Linked DNA regions of Homo sapiens: region 1 is linked to region 2. The links are contacts of gene promoters, found by promoter capture Hi-C in blood cells and fetal thymus (Javierre and others, 2016). All regions are on one chromosome and are shown on one strand. Each heading gives the region's core, a stretch centred on a gene start or on the middle of the fragment in contact. The rest is flanking DNA. Distances are from core to core; before and after follow the strand shown. Region 1 overlaps TAOK1 (TAO kinase 1). Region 2 holds the start of TAOK1 (TAO kinase 1).

Region 1 (6,997 bases), core at 4,187-6,686, 84 kb after region 2:
TTTTAAACAAACTTTAATCAACATGAATGTATATCTAGTCTGAGAAACGAGCAATGTATAACAATTTGAAAAATTAGAAAATGAAATTATTAATGCTACATTGAATGTACTTTAGTTCACTAATATTCTAATTAGTTCTCTTCAGATTATATTCTACCTAATTTCATAAATTTATTTATGAAATGTAGTCTGCTTTTAAAAATCTGCAATTCTGCCTGGCACTGTGGTTCACACCTGTAATCCCAGCACTTTGGGAGGCCGAGGTGGGTGGATCATTTTGAGCCCAGGAGTTCGAGACCACCCTGGGGAACATAGTGAGATCCCCCCTCCCCCGCCCCATCTCAGTCAAAAAATAAAATATTTATAAATGAAAAAAGAAAAACTCTAGAATTCTCTTTAATCTTTAAATTTTTTAAAATTATTTTTAATTGTGGTAAAATACAACATAAAATTTGCCATTTTAACTATTTTCAATTCCACATTTCAGTGGAATTAAGTGCATTCACGTTGTGCAACCATTATCACCATGCGTCTCTAGAATTCTTTTTATCTTGCAACATTAAAACTCTGTAGTCATTAAGCAATAATTCCCCAGCCTCTTGCAACCACCAGTCTACTTTCTGTCTCCATAAATTTGACTAGGTACTTAATATAAGTGGAATCATTTGGGATTTGTCTGTTTGTGACTAGCTTATATCACGTAACCTAATATCCCCAAAGTTCATCCATGTTGTAGTTATGTCAGAATTTCCTTCCTTTTTAAGTCTGAAAAATATTCCATTGGGTGTATGTATATCTACATATGTATCTATATCTGTCTGTTTCAGAGTCTGATTAGTCACACCTAGAACAAAAATTTTCATTTACCACATCATCTTTTAATATCTAATGTTGGCGTCCTTCATGAAAATTTTTTTATGTTAAGGAATACATTTTTTTGAGTCTGCCTTCCAGATTATTCAAATTTGAAACTTAAAGACCATAGAACAGATTTTCTGGATTTAGCATTTTATAATGTATCTTCCACATTTTACACAAAACACCGGAACATATTTTGCTGTGTTCTGTTAAGGCCTTGTGAAATAACATAGGAGGTATATGATCTTAAATCTAGTATACAACATTTCTTATTCTATTTATACTGCTTCCCTTGCCATTAAGAATATAGCCCAAATCAGTGATAAAACTTAAAATAATTAAAAAGAGCAAAAACAGATTTCTAGTCCTCCTCTCACACCTCCTAAATCTGTGGAATTTCTGGGTATGGACCAAAGGATCTGTATTTTTAGAGTTCTTGGGTTGCTTCTTAAGAGTAACTATGTTTAGGATGTGGCCTAAGTATTTAAGGTTGTCATGAAGTAGCTTAAGACCAAAGGTTTAACTGTATTTCCTGATAGGTATAGGTATTAGTGAATAAGGCTCTTAGTAAACTATGTAGGAAAAGATTTTTGTACTGCTTGGTTTTTTTCTGTGAACTTTTATATATAATAGCTAATTATTCACTAGCATTTTAGAGTCTGCATTTAGGAACTTAAATCTCAGAGGAATTACTTCATTTGAGTTAAACCCTAACATTTGGTAATAGAAATGAGCCAAAAACACAACAGGTGAACTTTATGGTATATAAATTATATATCAATAAAACTGTATTAAAAAAAAGAAAGGTTGGACTTTTGAAGAAAAATCACTGAATATGGTATATAGTTATCAACATGATTGGTGTATGGTTGTAAAATTTTAATGAGTCATTAATGATAAATTTTATCAAACTCAAATTTGTCTTACCTACCTTGAGTGAAATAATTTTGTAAATTATATAATTGAGTTGTAAACTATAGGCATGACTTGGAGATATTGTGGGTTTTGTTCTCAACCACTACAATAAAGCAAATATCATAATAAAGCAAGTCACATGAATTTTTTGGTGCCCAGTGCATATGAAAATTATGTCTAGGCCTGGCACAGTGGCTTACGCCTGTAATCCCAGCACTTTGGAAGGCCGAGGCAGGCGGATCACTTGAGGTCAGGAGTTTGAGACCAGCCTGGCCAATGTGGTGGAAAACCCTGTCTCTACTAAAAATACAAAAATTAGCCAGGCATGGTTGCAGGTGCCTGTAATTCCAAGGTACTTGGGAGGCTGAGGCAGGATAATCACTTGAACCCAGGAGGAAGAGGTACAAGAATCACTTGAACCCAGGAGGCGAAGGCTGCAGTGAGTCAAGATTGTGCCACTGCACTCCAGCCTGGACAACAACACAAGACTTCATCTAAAAAATATATATATATATATGTCCATGCTATACTGTAGTACCGTAGTCCATTAAGTGTGCAATAACATTTTGTCTAAAAAAGACAGTGTACGTACCTTAATTTTAAAATATTTTCTTTCTTTTTTTTTTTTTTTTTTTTTTGAGATGAAGTCTCACTCTGTCGCCAGGCTGGAGTGCAGTGGCGCAATCTTGGTTCACTGCGACCTTCGCCTCCCGGGTTCAAGTGATTCTCCTGCTTGCCTCCCGAGTAGCTGGGACTACAGGTGCCCGCTACCACGCCTGGCTAATTTTTTGTATTTTTAGTAGAGACGGGGTTTCATCATCTTGGCCAGGATGGTCTCGATCTCTTGACCTCGTGATCCCCCCACCTCGGCCTCCCAAAGTGCTGGAATTACAGGCGTGAGCCACCGCGCCCAGCTTAAAATATTTTATTTCTAAAAAAAAGTTAATGATAATTTGAGCCTTCAGCATGTCATACTATTTTTGCTGGTTGAGAATCTTGCTTCCATGTTGATGGCTTCTGACTGATCAGGGTAGTGGTTGCTGAAGGTTAAGGTGGCTGTGGCAATTTCTTAAAATCTGACAACAGTGAAGTTTGCCCATCAGTTTTCTCTTTCACAAAAGATTTCTCTGTAGAATGCAATGATGTTTGACAGCATTTTACCCATGATAAAACTTTCAAAATTGGAGTCCATCCTCTGTAACTCTGTTACTGCTTTATCAACTAAGTTTATGTAATATTCAGAAATTACTTTCTTTGCCCATCTATTACAAATAGTTTCTCATCCACTCAAGTTTTATCATGAAATTGCAGCAGTGTAGTCACATCTTCAGGCTCCATGTGTAATTCCAGTTTTCCTGCTGTTTCCACCACATCTGCAATTATTTCCTCCACTGAAATATTGAACCCCCCAAAGTCATCCATGAGGGTTGGAATCCACTTATTGCAAACTCCTGATAATGTTGCTAATTTGCCCTCCCATGAGTCGGAAACGTTCTTAATGGCATCTAGAATGAATTATTTCCAGAAGATTCTCAATTTACTTTGCCCATATCCATCAGACAAATTGCTGTCTATGGCAGCTATAGCCGTTGTGTGTTTTTTTTTTTTTTGAGATGGAGTTCATTCTTGTCGCCCAGGCTGGAGTGCAATGGCATGATCTCGGCTCACTGCAACCTCTGCCTCCCGGGTTCAAGCGATTCTCCTGCCTCAGCCTCTCGAGTAACTGAGATTATAGGCCTGCATCCCCATGCCTGGCTGATTTTTGTATTATTAGTAGAGACAGGGTTTTGCCATGTTGGCCAGGCTGGTCTCGAACTCCTGACCTCAGGTGATCCACCTGCCTCGGCCTCCCAAAGTGTTGGGATTACAGGCGTGAACCACCATGCCCAGCTGCTATAGCCTTTCTTTCTTTCTTTTTTTTTTTTTTTTTGAGATGGAGTTTCGCTCTTGTTGCCCAGGCTGGGGTGCAATGGCACTATCTCGGCTCACCGCAACCTCCGCCCCGCTGGGTTCAAGTGATTCTCCTGCCTCAGCCTCCCAAGTAGCTGGGATTACAGTCATGCACCACCACGCCCGGCTCATTTTGTATTTTTTTAGTAGAGACAGGGTTTCTCCATGTCGGTCAGGCTAGTCCTGAACTCCCGACCTCAGGTGATCCGCCCGCCTCGGCCTCCCAAAGTGCTGGGATTACAGGCGTGAGCCACTGTGCCCTGCTGGCCTTTCTTAAATAATAAGGCTTGGAACTCAAAATTATTCCTTGATCCATGGGCTGCAGAATGGATGGTGTATTAGCAGGAATAAAAACAACATAAATCTCCTTTTATATCTCTATCAGAGTTCTTGGGTGGCTAGGTACACGGGCAAAGACCAGTAATATTTTGAAAGGAATCTTTCTGAGCAGTAAATCTCAACCGTGGCCTTAAAATATTCACTAAACCATGCTTAAATGGATGTACTGTCATCCAGGCTTTGTTGTTTCATTGAACAAGCACAGGCAGAGTAGGAGTTTTGGAATGGTAAATGTGCATTGACTTCAACTTAAAATCACAAGCTGCATTAGCCCCTAACAAGAGAGTCAGCCTGTCCTTTGAAGCTTTGAAACCAGGCATTTCATAGTTGCTCTGTAGCCATGAAAGTCCTAGATGGTATCTTCTTCCAATATAAGGCTATTTCATCTACACTGAAGATCTGTTGACTGGGCATGGTGGCTCACACCTGTAATCTCAGCACTTTGGGAGGCCAAGGTAGGTGGATCACTTGAGGCCAGGAGTTCGAGACCAGCTTGGCCAACATGGTGAAACCCCGTCTCTGCTGAAAATAGAAAAATTACCCAGATGTGGTGGCAGGAGGAATGCTTGAACCCAGGAGGCAGAAGTTGTAGTGAGCCAAGATCATGCCACTGCACTCCAGTGTGGATGGCAGAGTGAAACTCTCAAAAAAAAAAAAAAAAAATCTGTTGCGTAATGTAGCCACCTTCATCAATGACACATTGGCTAGATCTTCTGGATAACTTGCATGTAGCCTCTACATCAGTACTTGCTGCTTCACCTTGCACTTTTCTTTCTTTCTTTTTCTTTTTTTTTTGAGACAGAGTCTCTCTCTGTTGCCCAGGCTAGAGTGCAGTGGCACTATCTTGGCTCACTGCAGCCTCCGCCTCCTGGGTTCAAACGATTCTCCTTCCTCTGCGTTTCCTCCCTAGTAGCTAGGACTACAGGCACGCATCACCACACCTGGCTAATTTTTGTGTGTTTAGTGGAGATGGGGTTTCACCTTGTTGGCCAGGCTGGTCTTGAACTCCTGACCTCAAGTGATCTGTCCGCCTTGGTCTCCCAAAATGCTGGGATTGATTATAGGAGTGAGCTACCGTGCCGGCCTACCTTGCATTTTTATTTTACGGAGATAATTTCTTTCCTTAAACCTGATGAAGCAACCTCTACTAGCTTCCAACTTTTCTTCTTCAGCTTTCTCACCTCTCTCAGCCTTTGTAGAGTTAAAGAGAGTTAGGGCCATCCTCTAGATTAGACTTTGTTTTACGGGAATGTTGTCGCTGATTTGATTTTCTATCCAGACCATTAAAGCTTTCTTCACATCAACAATAAACTTGTTTTACCTTCTTATCATTCATATATTCACTGGAGTAGCACTTTAAATTTTCTTCAATAACTTTTTCTTTGCATTTACAACTTGGCTATTTGGTGCAAAAGGCCTAGCTTCAAAGCCTGTCTCAGCTTTTGACATGCCTTTCTCACTAAGCTTAATCACTTGTAAGTTTTGAATTGAAGTGACAGATGTGTGAGTATTCCGTTCACTTGAACACTTAGGGGTCACTGTGGGGTTATTGATGGCCTAATTTCAACATTATTGTGTCTCAGAGAATAGGGAGGCCCAAGGAAAGGGAGACAGACTGGGGAATGGCTGGCTGGTGGAACTGTGAGAATACATGTTTATTGATTAAATTCACCATCTTATATGGGCACAGTTCATGGCTCCCCAAAACAATTACAATAGTAATGTAAACAATTACTGATCACAGATCACCATAACAGATATAATAATAATGATGAAAAAGTTTCAAATATTGTGAGAGTTACCAAAAGGTGACACAAAGACATCAAGTGAGCCCATGCTATTGGAAAAATGGTGCTGGTAGACTTGCTTTGACACAGGATTGCTACAAACCTTCAATTTGTTTTAAAAAAAAAAAAGTAACATCTGTGAAGTACAATAAAGCAAAGTGCTGTAAATTGAGATATGCCTGTATATGAATGTTATTTATTTATTTATTTGTTTTATTTTTGAGACCGAGTTTCGCTCTGTCACCAGGCTGGAGTGCAGTGTGGCTCGATCTCGGCTCACTGCAACCTCCACCTCCCGTGTTCAAGCTATTCTCCTGCCTCAGCCTCCCGAGTACCTGGGACTATAGGTGCACACCACCACGCCCAGCTAATTTTTGTATTTTTAGTAGAGACACGGTTTCACCATGTTGGCCAGGATGGTCTCAATCTCCTGACCTTGTGATCCACCTGCTTCAGCCTCCCAAAGTGCTGGGATTACAGGCGTGAGCCACTGTACCTGGCTGAATATAATTTATTTAAACTTTTTAATTTTGACATTTTATCTAAAAATGACCATATTTTGGGAGGCCAAGACAAGTGAATCACTTGAGGTCAGGAGTTTGAGACCAGTCTGAGCAATGCAGTGAAACCCCATCTGTACAAAAAATAGAAAAATTAGATGAGCATGGTGGTGTGCGCCTGTAGACCCAAATACTTGGGAGGCTGAGGTGGGAGGATCACTTGAGCCCACAAGATGGAGGTTGCAGTTAGCTGAGATTGTGCCACTGCACTCCAGCCTGGGTGAAAGAGCAAGACCCTCCCAATAAATAAGTAAAACCAAGCAAAGTTGCATGTTCTTGTTAACTCTTCTAAATTTAGTAATTACTTTTATTCTTATATAACTTTCTGAGGAAAAGTCCTGTTCATAATTCTTTACCTTTTTTCTCCCCACAGAAATGGCAGGATATTATTAAGGAAGTCAAGTTTCTACAAAGAATAAAACATCCCAACAGTATAGAATACAAAGGCTGTTATTTACGTGAACACACAGCATGGGTTGGTATTTGTTCTCCCCTTGTTGCAGTTTTAGCTGATTTTGGTTTATAATGAATTAATTCAGAATATCTCATACTGGTTGTGTAAATGCATGCAAAAACACCTGAAATGTT
Region 2 (7,150 bases), core at 4,362-6,861:
CTCTTGACCTCGTGATCCGCCCGCCTCGGCATCCCAAAGTGCTGGGATTACAGGCGTGAGCCACTGTGCCCGGCCCAAATCAGCTTAAGGGTGGGAAAAAAGAAATATATTAGGCCCTGTAACTGAAAAATCAGTGCCACAGGAGCTTAAAAAGTTTTGTTAAGTGTTTGACTCTGTCTCCCTTTTTTCTGTCTCTCCACACACCACACCCAGCTCCCAATCCCTGGGTATTTTTCTTTATAGATTGGGTTTTGTTATAAAGTTGAGTGTCCATACTGGGTCAGGGGATACAGCTGGTGAACTTGGGTGCTTCCCACTGCTGCCACCTAGTTTTAATACACCTCAACACTGAATGCTGTCATGGATACTGTCTACACACAGGAAATGAATCAGGAAAATTTCTAATATCTGTTTTAATCAAATGCTTCCTTTGGCCAGGTGCAGTGGCTCATGCCTGTAATCCTAACAGTTTGGGAAGCCAAGGTGGGCAGATCACTAGAGGCCAGGAGTTCGTTACCAGCCTGGCCAACATGGCGAAACGCCTTCTCTACTAAAAATACAAAAATTAGCCCAGCATGGTGGTGCATGCCTGTAATCCCAGCTACTCAGGAGGCTGAGGCACGAGAATTGTTTGAACCCAGGAGGCAAAGGTTGTGGTGAGCCGAGATTGTGCCACTGCACTCCAGCTTGGGCAATAGAGTGAGACTCTGTATCAAAAAAAAAAAAAAATCAAATGCTTCCTTTACTGATATGTTGTATTATACCCACTAGAGACAGTGAGTGTCTCAAAATTCAGGTTTTAAACAACCTCTCCTACATAACCTGCTCTCTCCTACTCACTGCCCAGAAACCCCCGAAGAAGGGACAGAGGTCTGGCCCGGATATCATATGGCACCATGTAAATGGTTACCATGAAACTTGCCTTTTATTTCTCCTCTTCATAAATTTACTCAACACAGAAATGTTAGAATGTTGTAAATGTAGAATTTGAAGGCATTTGAGACTTTGTGAGGATGAGATCAGAACTTGGAGCTTATGAACCATAGACATGCTTCTATAAGCAATTTAAGCAGGCTTCACATAGATCATATGGAGGAAAGCTTGCATCTTGGTAGTTTATTTTATGCAACAGAGGGATGCTGGATGAGGGAGATGGGGTCTGTGTGGGAGGAACTCCATAGAAAGTCTAGATTTACATCATCCCAGTTTATGAGCCCAAAGGCAAAGCAAAACTTCTCACTCTCACAAAGCAGTATATAAAATCCAAATGAACATCTCTGAGTGGTCCAGCTTGGGCTCTGGGTCATGTACCCTTCCCTGGCCCAGTTGCTTCACCAAGGGGTGAGCTATTTTGGTTGCCCACGCTGTGACGGCGTGCCCATCTGTAGCAAGAGGCCCAGAGTAACAACCCCACAAGAACTCCACAGAACAACAGACAGGAAAGTTCTCTAAGAACTGTAGAGTAATTAAAAAAATTTTTTTTTGAGACAGGGTCTCACTTTGTCACCCAGGCTTGAGTGCAGTGGTGTAAACAGGGCTCACTGCAGCCTCAACTTCCCAGACTCAAGTGATCCTCCCACCTCAGCCTCCCTAGTAGCTGGGACTATAGGTGCACACCAGCACACCCAGCTAATTTTTGTAGAGATGGGGTTTCCCCATGTTGACCAGGCTGGTCTCAAACTCCTGAGCTCAAGTGATCTACCTACCTCAGCCTCCCAAAGTGCTGGGATTGCAAGTGTGAACCACCACACCCGGCCATAGGGTACTTTTTGCCAGAAGAAGAGGGAGAAATTTGGGACAGACAAGAATAACAGATGTTCACTACAAGTGGAATAGAACTGCTAGTGAGGCTAACTGATACGTTTTTTGTGGGGATGCTAGCTAGAGTAGAATATATTAGCACTTGTGGTCAGGTGAAATAAAGCAGCTATCACCTGGATACAACAGAACTTTCATATCCAGACAGGATCTTCACTATAAGTCTGAGACATGGGTAGGGCATATTCATTTTACAGTATATGCTTTTGGGAGTCAAGAGACACAGAGAAGCATAGCAGAAAACACATCATTTACATGACAGGACCGGCTATAACTCCGATACGTACATCAGTTTGGGAAGCAGGTGACTTCTAGACATTCTTAGAACCTTAGACAATCCTGAAAACATTTGACATGTGTAAGACTCCAGAAATACCCATCGGCCAGGCACATAGTGCCAAAGTGACAGTAACCTCCAGAGAACTCTAGCATGTGTGTACACCTTTTCCTAGAGTTCTCTGTCACACTAACATTTGCAGCAGCTATTCTTCCATACACTCCAGGCAAACAGCTTTCATTCACTCACTCTTCTTGACATCTCCCACACCTAACCCAATTTCTGACACATAGGAGAAAATGTCTGCAGAATTATTGAACTGATAGCAAACATTTGTTGAATGTCATTATGTACATTATGCTAAGTTTGTGGACATAGATATAAATAAGACAAATATTCATATGCTTGTGAAGATCACAGCCTGGTGGGAAAGGCCAAAAAATAAACAGTTCTGTGTGAGGACTATTTGGTTGCAAACAAAAGAGAACCAGACCCAACGTTAGCTTAAGAAAAATGGGAATGTTTTAGCACACAAATGCTAAAAACTCCAGGGTCAGGACTGACTTCAGACAGAGTTAGTTCCAGGGCTTCAGTGATCTGGTTTTATCTCCAGAATGTGTTTCCCACTGAGTTGCCTTTGTTCTGGGGCTTCACAGCAAAAGGCAATAGCAATTCCAGTCCTTACATTCTCTCAAGGAAATAGAATGTAGTGGCTCTGAGAACTGCTTGAACCCGGGAGGTGGAGGTTGCAGTGAGCTGAGATCGTGACACTGCACTCCAGCCTGGGCAACAGAGCGAGACTCCGTCCCAAAAAAAAAAAAAAAAAAGAATATAGACCGAGCACAGTGGCTCAGCTTGTAATCCCATCACTTTGGGAGGCCAAGGCGGGTGAATCACGAGATCAGGGGTTCGAGACCAGCCTGGCCAATATGGTGAACCCCCCCCCGTCTCTACTAAAAATACAAAAATTAGCCGGGCGCAGTGACACGCGCCTGTAGTCCCAGCTATTCAGGAGGCTGAGGTAGAAGAATTGCTTGAACCCGGGAGGCAGAGATTGCAGTGAGCTGAGATCGCGCCATGGCACTCCAGCCTGGGCGACAGAGTGAGACTCTGTCTCAAAAAAAAGAAAAAAAGAAAAAAAAGAACACAGTGGTTCTGGATGAAAGCTGAGTTTGACAACTGGCTTCACCACAAACTGGCTATAAGAACTTTGACAAGTTAATCAAAATTCTTCTCTGTGCCTCAGTGCCACTCTTTCTTTCTTTCTCTCTCTCTCTCTTTCTTTCTTTTTGACAGAGTCTCGTTCTGTTGGCCAGGCTGGAGTGCAGTGGCACAATCTCCTCTCACTGCAACCTCTGTCTCCTGGGCTCAAGCAATTCTCTTGCCTCAGCCTCCTGAGTAGCTGGGATTACAGGCGTGTACCACCATGCCCGGCTAATTTTTTTCACGATGTTGGCCAGGCTGGTCTCGAACTCCTGACCTCAGGTAATCTGCCCACCTCAGCCTCCCAAAGTGCTGGGATTACAGGCATGAGCCACCGTGCCAGGCCCAGTTCCACCATTTCTAAAAGGGAATAATAATTATACCCACCCAATATGGTTATTGTGAGGAGTAAATAAGTAGAGTGTTTAGAACTCTCTCTGGCATATAATCAGCACTCAATACGTGTTAACTATTTCACTATTTTTGTTATCATCATCATCAAATTTCAGAAACTTTGTGCAGTGGCAGTATTGTAGCCAATGAGATTTATCCGAGGTGTGATTATTGCTCATTGAAAAATCATAGGCTGGGCACGGTGGCTCACATCTGTAATCTTAGTACTTTGGGAGGCCGAAGCAGGTGGATCCTTTGAGGCCAGGAGTTCAAGACCAGCCTGGGCAACATGGCGAAACCCATCTCTACAAAAAATACAAAACTTAGCCAGCACGGTGGCATATGCCTGTAGTTCCGGTTACTTGGGAGACTGAGGTAGCAGAATCATTTGATCCTGGGAGGCAGAGGTTGCAGTGAGCCAGGATCACACCACTGGATTCCATTTTGGGAGTTCAATATATATATTACATTTTTGGGAGAAAATAAGAAAGTTTCTTTCCCAAAAAGCCAGAGAAAATCTTATTGTACCCATTGGCTCTAATTGGATCATGTGCCCATCCCTGAGCCAGACTAGAGGAAGGTCATACATACACTGTATACACGGATTGCTTAGGTCTGATCAACATGCTCCTTCCTTGGAGCACAGATCTACTATGGCCAGCCTGGTCTCGAACTCCTGACCTCAGGTGATCCGCCCGTCTCAGCCTCCCAAAGTGCTATAATTACAGGCGTGAGCCACCGGGCCCGGCCCAGAGTTAATTTTTATTCATGAAACTCATATAACAGGTTTATTTATTTCAGTCGTTTTGTTGGTTAAAGAACCAAGATTTTTTATGACTACACTTTGTGTACACTTTTAGGTTCTCTCTTTTTTTTTTTTTTTTTTGAGACGAGTCTCATTCTGTCGCCCAGGCTGGAGTGCAGTGGCGCAATCTCGGCTCACTGCAACCTCCGCCTCCCGGGTTCACGCCATTCTCCTGCCTCAGCCTCCCGAGTAGCTAGCTGGGACTACAGGCGCCCACCACCACGCCCGGCTAATTTTTTTCTATCTTTTAATAGAGACGGGGTTTCACCGTGTTAGCCAGGATGCTCTCGATCTCCTGACCTCGTGATCCGCCCGCCTCGGCCTCCCAAAGTGCTGGGATTACAGGCGTGAGCCACCGCGCCCGGCCTTACACTTTTAGGTTCTTGAATAAGTACTGAGGGAGTTTTCCCTAAAAAAAAAAAAAAAAGTTTTGAGATAAAAGAATAAAAACTCTACTTCTTCTTTGCATAGGAGTCTTTAGTTTGTTTGCTGCTCTTGTTCCAAAACTTCTCATTACTCAACCTACTAAACCCACAGACACTTTTCAAGAAGTTATCTCTTTTCTACATCACCAATATATAGGGTGGCTTAGATCTGTATTTCCAAGTCTTACTGTCGTTCCAAGAATTAGTATCAACTATTAGAATCTCAAAAACTCAACTGCATACTGATTGCGCTGCCCAGTGTACCTCTGAATCCCACGGGGGAGGGGGTGTAGAACCGAGTTGTGCAGGAATGGGATATTCCACACTTCAGGGCAAACTTATTCGCAGGATCAGTGGCGGGCTTTGGAGGTGGGAAGCAGGAAGGAAGGGGAATGCAGATAAACTCTTCTTCTTCAGATCTCCGGGGTGAAATGAATGCACCTGACGCCCGCGTGGCATTAGAAGCTCCGCGAACTCAGTGAGGCCATGCTGGACAGAGGCTGGAACTCCGGGCCACCGGGACAACTCTGCCCGTAGCAAGCCTTGCGCGCTCCTGTGAGGGCGCGCGCGCGCGCATGTAGTCGTGTCTCGCGCAGGGTCCGGCCTGTCAGGCGGAAAATCTCGCGAGATCGGAGACGGGGGATGACGGTCTGGAGGAGGGGAGTGGTGTCGGGTAAAGGGGGGGAAGCTGGGCAGCGGCCGGGCTCTGTGGCTTCAGGGCTCGGGGAGAGAGAGGGAGGGTGGCAAAGAGACTGAGTCGGTGCCGCCGCCTGCCTGAGGAGAGAGGAGGGGTCCCGCTCGCCCTGCGCCCTTCGCGGGCCGAAAGCACTAGGCACTCGCGAACATCTGAGGCCTCCCGGCCCCGGGGGACCCCGCCCCGCCGTCCGCCGGCCGGCCCGCGGCCTCTCTTCCCTTTGTGAGCGCCTCCTTACCAGGGGTGGTGTTGGTGGCGGAGGGCTGCGCGTGGGCCCGCCCGCCGAGGGGCCGCGGCGGGGGACCGAGAGGGCCTCGGCTGTGTGAGGACTAGAGGCGGCCGAGGCCCGGGCCGGTTCCCCCGAGGCGGCGACGGAGACGGCTCCCGGCACTTCCCCGCGCCATCTTAACTGAGCCCAAGCGCTGAGGGCGCCTCCTCGACCCCGGTCGTCCCCTCGCCCCCCCCCCCACCCCCCGCCGCCGCCGCCCCTTGTTGCAGAGCTTGGGCTGGGCGGCTTGCTGGGGCTCGGGGGTGGGGGGCGGCGATCTGTCGCCGGGCCCCCTCCTCCTCCTCACTCCTCACCCTCCAGGGTAGCGGCTACCGGAGCGCTGCAGGGGGCTGCGCCTGCCTGCTCCGCCCCAGACCTGTCGGCGAAAGGGTAAGGGCACCTCTGCTTTGGGAAAGGGGGATATAGAGGGGGGCGGGGAAATTCGGCCCACTCGGGCCTGTGTGTGGAAGAAGGGATGTGGGAGTGGGGTGGGGGAGGGAGAAAAGGAGGGTCTGTGATTCTGTGGGTGGGGTGAAGAAGCTGGTGAGCTGGGCGCCCTCCGGTTTTAAGGGGCGAGAGCAATTCCATTCCTTTTTCCTGAGGGTCACCGGAAGGGGTGGTGGAAGGGGGATGTTTCGAGGAAGGTGTGGCCCTCACAGGGAGACTGGGTTGATGTGCACCCCGGTTTAAAGGCGCGAGGTCCCCTTCCCCTCTGGTGCCTTTGCTCCTCTTCTCCTTTGTAGTGTCTGTGTATTCTTGGGAAGGGAGACTGCTCTGGGTGGCTTGCTGGGTGGATTCCACCCCCTAGCACAGGAAATCTATACCCCTCTTCTGTAGGGGCGATGGAAGCGTTTCTCTCCCCGTACCCTTCCCCCTTCCCCATCCTCTAGTCTACTGCAATGCTGCAGAAGTCCAAGGCAGTTTCTTCATACACAGACCCATGTATACACAGAAGGGAGGGGGAGCAGGAGAGGGAAGTAATGGCGCTTCCCTTGAAAAGGTTACTCTTTTTCCTTTGGTTTTAAATCGACGACAGTATCGTTTTAATACTCTTCCCCTGAGATCTGTCCATGGGAAGTGTATCTGTTCTGGTGTTATTGTTGGGGGATATGGCCTCTCGAGAGGGACACCTCTCCTGTTAGAACAGTTTTGATGTCTCTCTTTTTGAGAGATGTCTGGATTGACATTTTTTGTGAGCAGGTTGGATTTTAGTTAGAATTCAAATAAAATAATTTTGTACCTCCTCATCCTCATTTCCCTTTTCTTT

What was found. The method cuts DNA at HindIII sites, captures the fragments that hold promoters and counts their contacts. A CHiCAGO score of 5 or more calls a contact.
Region 1: a fragment that was not itself captured here is called in contact with the fragment with the promoter of TAOK1 in region 2 in 2 of 17 cell types (M1 macrophages and M2 macrophages); the score reaches 5.4 in M1 macrophages.

What each region holds. Positions count from the first base shown.
Region 1 is chr17:29,468,888-29,475,884 of GRCh38, forward strand. It overlaps TAOK1 (TAO kinase 1), which reads left to right. Exons shown (of 20, transcript NM_020791.4): 4 at 6,783-6,884. Among named protein-coding and RNA genes, the nearest start is that of MIR4523, 82 kb to the left of the region's middle. The HindIII fragment of the contact is 175 bases long and covers 5,350-5,524 here.
Region 2 is chr17:29,384,752-29,391,901 of GRCh38, forward strand. TAOK1 (TAO kinase 1) reads left to right here and starts at 5,612. Exons shown (of 20, transcript NM_020791.4): 1 at 5,612-6,273. MIR4523 (microRNA 4523) reads left to right here and starts at 5,911; the gene lies at 5,911-5,979. It also overlaps the pseudogene RNU4-34P. RefSeq lists enhancers at 5,168-5,407, 5,528-5,617, 6,778-7,017 and a silencer at 5,658-6,127. The HindIII fragment of the contact is 16,274 bases long and covers 1,099-7,150 here.